2 separate regions of the Homo sapiens genome follow, and region 2 is linked to region 1. Evidence: promoter capture Hi-C in 16 types of primary human blood cells and fetal thymus (Javierre and others, 2016). All regions are on one chromosome and are shown on one strand. The core of a region is centred on a gene start or on the middle of the fragment in contact, and the rest is flanking DNA. Distances in the headings are between cores, read along the strand shown. Region 1 holds the start of SLC6A12 (solute carrier family 6 member 12). Region 2 overlaps IQSEC3 (IQ motif and Sec7 domain ArfGEF 3).

Region 1 (3,749 bases), core at 321-2,820:
AACGGCAGAATGAAAGCAAGAGCAAGTGAAAAGGACAGCTGGCCCCGAGCCGTGGTAACTCAAGAGGGAACACGCTTAAACTGCAGCAAGAGGGATTTAAGTTAGACTCAGGGAAGAAATGGCCCAGAGGATGTTAGACACCAAAACAAGCTGTACTGAGTTCTCCTTTCTGGGCTACTTTTAAAAGGCAAAGGACTACACACCCCACCCCCGCTGTGCCCTTCCACCTCCAGCTTCGGCTGGCCGCCTCTCCAGCCCCTCGAGTCTCCTCCAAGGCCGCCCACCTGCTTTGCTAAGCCGGGACAGGGGGGTGAGGGGTGGGGGATGGGCCTCATCATACTTCAGTGCCCTCCAGAAGCAAACACACCAATTTCCACACCGGGCTTGGTGCTGCCCAGAGAGCAAATCTTCAAGAGACTAGAAAGTCCAAAGTTAAGTCTGTTTTCAGGAGCTGGGCATGTCGCCAGAGGCCCAGCTGGGGCTAGCAGAGGTGCAGACGAGACCAGAAATGCTGCTGCCCATGTGCTGCTGGGATCCCAGCTCTGTCCCCTTTGCTCCCCAGTCCAGCATAGGAATAGCTCAGACCCTGCACACGGGGGGATGGGACACCCAGCCCCTGCTTCAGTCCACACCCACATACCAACACCCATTCCCATACACACACTGGTGCCATTTCCCGTCACGTCCCTTCGCACACACATACCTGTGTGCATGGCACCAAAACCTGGCTCTCTCTGTAGTCCTTCACACCCCGTGAGTGCCGGTCTCAGCTGGTGGCTGCCTGCAACTCCCCTGAGTGCCCCCCTCGGGTACAAGCACACCCATAGCATCCACCGCCCAAAGCCAAGACAGCTTCCTCCTGGGAGGCGCCTGGCACCCAGCTCGTCACGCTCAGCCGGCAGGCAGCGGGCAGGAACCCCTCACCTGTGATCATTTATTGCAGTTCCTGGGCCCTCGGGAATGCCCCGAGGTTTCTCCTGTCCACTTCTCCTTCCACCTTGCTGGGCACCACCTGCTTCCCCTCCCCTCGTCAGATGACCACCCCTGCTTTCACCCACTGCCGTGACCAGCTGCCCATCGCTGGACTTTCCTGCTCCACAGGCTAATCACTGAGCTGCTCCCACGCTGGATGGGGCGGAGCTAGGGGGCACCCCTTGTCCTGAGAGTCGTGGGCATCAGACTTGCCCTTTGGCCTGAGGTTATTGCAGGTCCTGCCCCCCGCTGCAGACACGCAGTTCCACAGAGTCTCGCTTCCCAGGGCTCTATCCCTCCAGCCCCTCTGAGCAGCAGTTGGAGACTGCAAAGACAGAGCCAGCCCCTCCACTTCCCGCTCACCTCAGTCCCCAGCACCGGCTCCTGTGGTCAGCTTGGCTGTGGGCATCAGGTCTCCAGGAGAGTCCCAAGGCAGCTGCTTATGGGAAAGCCAAGAGAGCCGGGACCTGAAAGGGAAACTGCCCTCCACGTTCACGCCTTACCCTGTTCCTCCCAGCGCAGAATCCCATGTGACTTGTCCAGGGACTCCCAGACAGAAAGAAGCCGTGTGTGTATGTGTTGGGGCGGGGGCTGTGTGTGTTGGGGAGTGAAAGGACAGAGAAATACCAGGAGCAGCAGGAGGGACTGAGGCCAAAAGTTTGTGAACCGAGATTACAACATCCAACCTCAGGAAGTCAAGTCCTCTGTCCCCAGCGCTCCCACCCCCATCCCACTCCCACTGTGAACCCACTGTCTCCAGACCGGTGCCCTCCCCGTGGGCACAGTCCCATGATGGCCCCTCCAGAGCTGGGCTGAGCTGCTGCTCCCTTGGGCAGGGGAAGGGGCTCAGAGACTCACACCCTGACCTCATCTCCCCTCCTCCTCCTCCTTGCCCTTCCCCCTTCCCCCTTTTCCCCTATCCCCCTCCAGAACCATCTCCTTCCCAGGGATGAGGAGACGGGTATGTGCAGCACAGGGGACAGCCCTCTCTTACCAGAGACTCCAGGCTATAAACTGAGAACCTTGGGAGGGGAGGTGACCTCACTGACGAGGGCAAGGGAGGAGGGTGAATCACACGCTGGAGTTTTCCACCAAGTACCTGCCCTCTGTGGCTTCTAGGCAAGGCCCTGGACCTTCACAACCCTTCTCCTTGGGATTTTCCTAGAGAAAGCACCCAGAGCGTACCTCAAGAAGCAATGTAGAGAGGACCCAGGATTGGGACCAGACAGACCTGAGTTTCTTCTCCTCCTCTATCATGTATCAGTCACGACAGCTAGGCAAGGGTCAGCCTTGGTTTCCCAGTCTGTCAAAGGTAGGTAACAACACAATATCTACTTTGCGGGGTTGCTGTGAGGGTGCAGGGATATCATAGGTGCTTAAGGGGAGGTGTGGGTGTTTGTTGTGTGTCCTCTGGAAGCAGAGGCTGGGATGGTGGGGTGTCTGGTCCCAGGCACCTCTGGTCACTGCATAGCACCAGGCACCTAGCTAGAATTTGTCTGGAGTGGCCTGCCAGCTATCAATGGGGAAGGGTATTTTTTGAATACATGTGCCCTATGCCGTGTGCCCAGTGAGCTCCTCCAGAACAGCGTCCTGGTCACTGTCCCTGAGCACGCCCACCTGGTGTGGGGTACAGCACTGTCCCACCGCCCTTCATTCAGAATAGCTGGTGCCTCCTTCAAGACAAAGGAGGTGCTTCTTCAGCTCTAGGTGGTATGAAGGGAGAGGAAGTTGCAGGGAGAAAGGGAAATTTCCTTTTACATGTGCTTCCTCTGTGTATTTTAGAACTTCCCAGCAGGGGTGGGGTGTGAAGTGAGACTCTCAGTCTGTAGTTTTCCATCAAGCACCCCCACGATATGTCTCTCGGGCCCCTCTCAGCCTCTCCTGTGGGGTTCCACATGAAGAGGAAGGCAGAGCAGGTCTCAGCTCTCAGACCCATTGCCTCTATGAAAGCAGAAGCCGGGCTGGGGGTCAGCTGTGGCACAGTAGGACATGGCCCAGCCAGAATCCATACTTGAGCTACCCCGGTGCTCAGGTGTGGCCTGTCCCTGCATGTCAGGTCCACCATGGATTGACCACAGAGTTATTGCAGAGGGGACATCAAAGTCCATGTGATCACCTAGCTACAGCTACTCCAGAACAAAACACCAGCCTCTCCATAAAAAGGAGAAAGAGGGGAGAGGATCAGACAAGCCAAGATGGTGAATTTCCTTGTTGGTTCCCTCAAAAATTATATTTAGCACATACAGTGTGACATGCTTTCTGTGAGGATGAACAGCAACAGCCCAGCAGTCCTGTCACCTCTCCTTCACCTTGTCAGAGAACAGCTGCCTGGTTGACCTGGCCCAGGGGGTACAGTTTGACTTTCCCCCAAAAGAGCTACCTGGTCCCTCCCTGTTTTTATCTGACTGCCTCTGGCCTTAGTCCCACCATCTTAATGTTGAGCCCTTCCTCACTCAAGTTTTCCTAGCCTCCAAGACCCACTTGGTATTCAGACCAGTTAGTAAACTTCTGGAGGCCAGAGACTCTCTAATGTTGAGCCCTTCCTCACTCAAGTTCTCCTAGCCTCCAAGACCCACTTGGTATTCAGACCAGTTAGTAAACTTCTGGAGGCCAGAGACTCTCTAATGTTGAGCCCTTCCTCACTCAAGTTCTCCTAGCCTCCAAGACCCACTTGGTATTCAGACTGGTTAGTAAACTTCTGGAGGCCAGAGACTCTCTAATGTTGAGCCCTTCCTCACTCAAGTTCTCCTAGCCTCCAAGACCCACTTGGTGTTCAG
Region 2 (3,749 bases), core at 913-3,412, 130 kb before region 1:
CCGAGGTACAAATTCTACTCAGCATCCACCTTTCCTGTCTTCCTTGTACCCAAGACACCTCAGCAAAAAAAAAAAATAAATTTAAAACTCCCAGCCTTATCTTGGCCTTCTCATGTTTATGTTTGTGTTTTATCGCATCACAGTCTTAGAATTCCCAGGGCTGTAGGTCTCCTCAGCCTACGGTGCGGCATAATAGTTCTGAGCAGGGCCCTGGGTTTGAATCTCGACTCAGTCGTTCACTAGCTGTGTGATCTCAAGCAATGAGAGCCTCGCGTTTCCCGTTCGTAAAATAAGGAATACGAATGGTACCACCCTCCTGGGATTGCTGGGAAAATTCAGGGGTGATGCCAGTAAAGCGTCAGGCAAGCCGAGTGCCTGGCACGCAGTGAGGGCTCGACGCGGGGTGGTTGCTGTCACTTTGGGACCCTTCCAGTGGCAGAAGGTGCTCTTTGAAGGTGAGAGGCCTCACCACCCCCCACCCTGACCCCGGCATCTTCTAAGGGGCTCTGAACAGGACTCCTTCCCTGTTTGACTTCACACCCTTTCAAATATTTGAAGGCAGATAGCCATCCTTCCCTTCCCTTGCCTTCCAGTCCACTGACACCCCTCCGCCATCTACTTTCAGGAGAACATACCTGATCCTGGCACTTCCTGCTCCTCATGGTTCTGCGGGTGGCCCTGCCTCACCTGGGTTACTGCTCTCCGAGAACACAGAGGGAGCTGGGAGTGAGCCCTGCAGCGCAGGGGCTGTGGCCAGACCAGCTTTGGGCACAGGGAGGCCCTCCCTCACCCCCCGCCTAGCTTTGGATGGTGGCTAGGGACCCACTGGCTTTCTCAGCCCCAGCCACAGATGGGACCTATCACACATGAGGTCAGCTAAAGCCTCAGGGCTCTTTCACTTGAAGGACTCTGGCTTCTGGCCACCTGTACTTGTACAGGTGGCTTTTAACATACACACAAAATTGCTAATGTAATTTGCTTTTAATGTAATTCACCTTTTCCTTTCTTTAAGAGATGGTGACTCTGTCACCCAGGCTGGAGTACAGTGGCACAATCATTGCTCTCTGCAGCCTCGAACTCCTGCGCTCAAGTGATCCTCCCACCTCAGCCTCCCAGGTAGCTAGGACTACAGGCATGCATCACGACACCTGACTAATTTTCTTTGTTTTTGTAGAGACGGAGGCCTCCCTATGTTGCCCAGGCTGGTCTCGAACTCCTGGCCTCAAGCAATCTTCCCAATTCAGCCTCCAGAGTAGCTTGATTTACTCTTTTCAAATAGACAATACATTGACCTAGTACAAGATTCAAAAGAAAAGAGTTTACAGTGAAAAGCATCGCCCCCATCCTTGTTTCCTAACCACTCGAATTCCTGCCCGCCCCCACACCTTCCAGCAACCACTATTATTTCTCACGTCTTTCCAGCTATATGTACATTTAAGCAAAATGTTTATTTCTTTTTACAGAGATACTAGTATCCTATATGCTGTTCTGCACCTTGAGTTTTGTTCCCTAATAATGTATCTTAGTGATCTTTCCTTATTAAATATAAAAAGAGCTGCCGCGTTCTTTTTTAATAGCCGCAAAATATTCCACTGTATGGCTGTGAAGCTAGGTCCTTTCTGCTGTCTGCTGAGAGTTTTGGAAGGCAAGTAATTATTTAAGGTGGGCTTTCTGAGGGCCAGAGAGGGGAGGAAGCAGGTATGATTGAGCAGCTGCATTTGAACTTGCCTCTCTGGCTGACGTGCTGCTGCAGCCTCCTGCAGACATGGGTCAGTTGCAGCAGAAATACGATTCGGCAAGTGCTTCTCCGTCTGAAAACTCCAGCTTGGTTCACTTTTGCTCCCCGGGGCTCCCTTTGTTGTCAGCAGTTATCAAGTTTGGGGGAGCCATCAGGGTGTTAGCATCTGGCTCTAAACCAGCTGAAGGTGAGTCCTACAACCCCAGCAGTTTCAGGAAGCCTTCCTGAACCGATCTGATAAATAAATAGATGTTCTTATAGCCTCACTCCTTACTTTTCACCCCAGGCTGAGCACACACCAGTCCTTGCTAAGAACAAAATTAGTTCTTTATTCTTGTGGCTTAGAAAAGCTTGTTTTCTTCTTTCTGTAAGTATATATTTTCCTGGCATCTGTATTCTTCCTTTCACTTAACAAATATTTATTATCTGCTGTGTGCCAGTTACTATTCTAGGCCCTGGGGTATAGCAGTGAACAAAAAAACTCCCAAATTCCTTTATGAAGCTTACAGACAAACAAGATCACTAATGAAAACTTATAGTGCATCTGATGGGATAAGAGCCCTGGAGAAAAAGCAGAGAAGAGACCCGGAATAAAGGAATCTGCACTTTCAAACTGGGTGCCCTGGGGAGACAGCACCTGAGCAAAGTCCTGGAGGAGGGGAGGGAGGGAGTTCTGTGGCTGTCTGGGGACGGGCATTCCTGGCAGGACAAACAGCTAGCATAGAGGCCAAGGGTGGGACCCTGCCAGGTTGTTCAAGTAAGACAAGGGCCGAGAGCACAGGGAGAGGCGCCTGAGGCCAAGTCAGAGAGATTGTTGGGGCATGGGAGGGTAGGAGGGTGCAGGCGCGTAGCAGATCTTGTAAGAGATTCTCAACTGGGATTTCCAGGTCCACCAGGGAGCATTTGGAATGTGTGGGCACATTTTAGTTGTCACAAATGCTGATGGGGCTTGGATGAGGAAGGTTGTTGTTCTGTGGCATGCAGTGGGTAAGGGCCATGTCAAACATCCTGCAGTGTGTGGGACAGACCACACAGTGAAGAATTTTCCTGCCAGAAATGCCCCTGTTTCTTGTTGTTGAGGGCATTGGAGTCCGTTAGGAAGTGTTTGGCTTTTACCTTCAGAAAAACTAGGAACCAGTGGATGACTTTGAGCAGAGGGTGCTTAAAAGGAACTTTGGATGCTGGTTTGAGAATAGACTGAAGAGGGAAGAAAGGCAGAAGCAGGGAGTTCAGGTAGAAGGTTGTTACACAGCCCAGGTAAGAGATGCTAGTAGCTTGGACCAGGGTAGTAGCAATGAAAGTATGATCTGCAGCCAAGACAACAGTACTTCCTGAGGGATCAGTGTGGGATGTGAGACAAAGAGGAGTTGAGGATGAGCTCAAGGTTTGGGGCCAAAGTTATTAGAAGGATGGGATGGAGAAGTCCATGGGGGATGAGGAGGTTTGAGCATTTGACGGATGGCGTTTGAGACAGCTCTTAGATGTTTGAGAGGAGATGTGCAGTAGGCATTTGGAATGGGCTGGAGGTATAACTTTGGGATGCTTTTAAAGCCTTGAGACTGGGCCACGCCACCAAGGAGTGAGAACAGAAGATGAAAGAGGCCTAGGGCAGATTTGCAATGCACACAACACTAAAAGGTGGGCATGGGAGCTGAGAAGGAGCACCCAGAGGGAGGAGAACAGCCAGGAGAAGCACCTAGTGTTCTGGCAAAGAGCGTTTCAAAGGCTGCTGAAACGTGGAGGATGCAGACTGAGAACTGTCCATTAGCTTTAGCAACATTCAGGTAATTGGTGACCTTGAAAAGCATAGTCTTGGGAGTGGATTTGGAGGCTTGATTAGTGGGTTTGAGAGAGAAGGGAGGAGAGACTTTAGAGACAAATCAACCAAATAGAACATGTGGACCTTTGATCCGGCTTGATTTAGACAAAGCCATTGGAACTAGACATTTTTAAGACAGTCGGGGAATTTGAACGTAGATGAAGTATTAGGTGATGTTAGAAAATTGTTAAT

What was found. Contacts are between HindIII fragments. The CHiCAGO score rates a contact against its expected background, and 5 or more counts as called.
Region 2: a contact is called between a fragment that was not itself captured here and the fragment with the promoter of SLC6A12 in region 1, in 2 of 17 cell types (erythroblasts and M1 macrophages). The highest score is 6.4, in erythroblasts.

Annotation. Positions count from the first base shown.
Region 1 is chr12:212,587-216,335 of GRCh38, forward strand. It overlaps SLC6A12 (solute carrier family 6 member 12), which reads right to left and starts at 1,571. Exons shown (of 16, transcript NM_001122848.3): 1 at 1,336-1,571. RefSeq lists an enhancer at 681-1,452. The HindIII fragment of the contact is 26,496 bases long and covers 1-3,749 here.
Region 2 is chr12:78,442-82,190 of GRCh38, forward strand. The region is part of intron 1 of IQSEC3 (IQ motif and Sec7 domain ArfGEF 3); the gene reads left to right. Among named protein-coding and RNA genes, the nearest start is that of IQSEC3, 14 kb to the left of the region's middle. The HindIII fragment of the contact is 152 bases long and covers 2,087-2,238 here.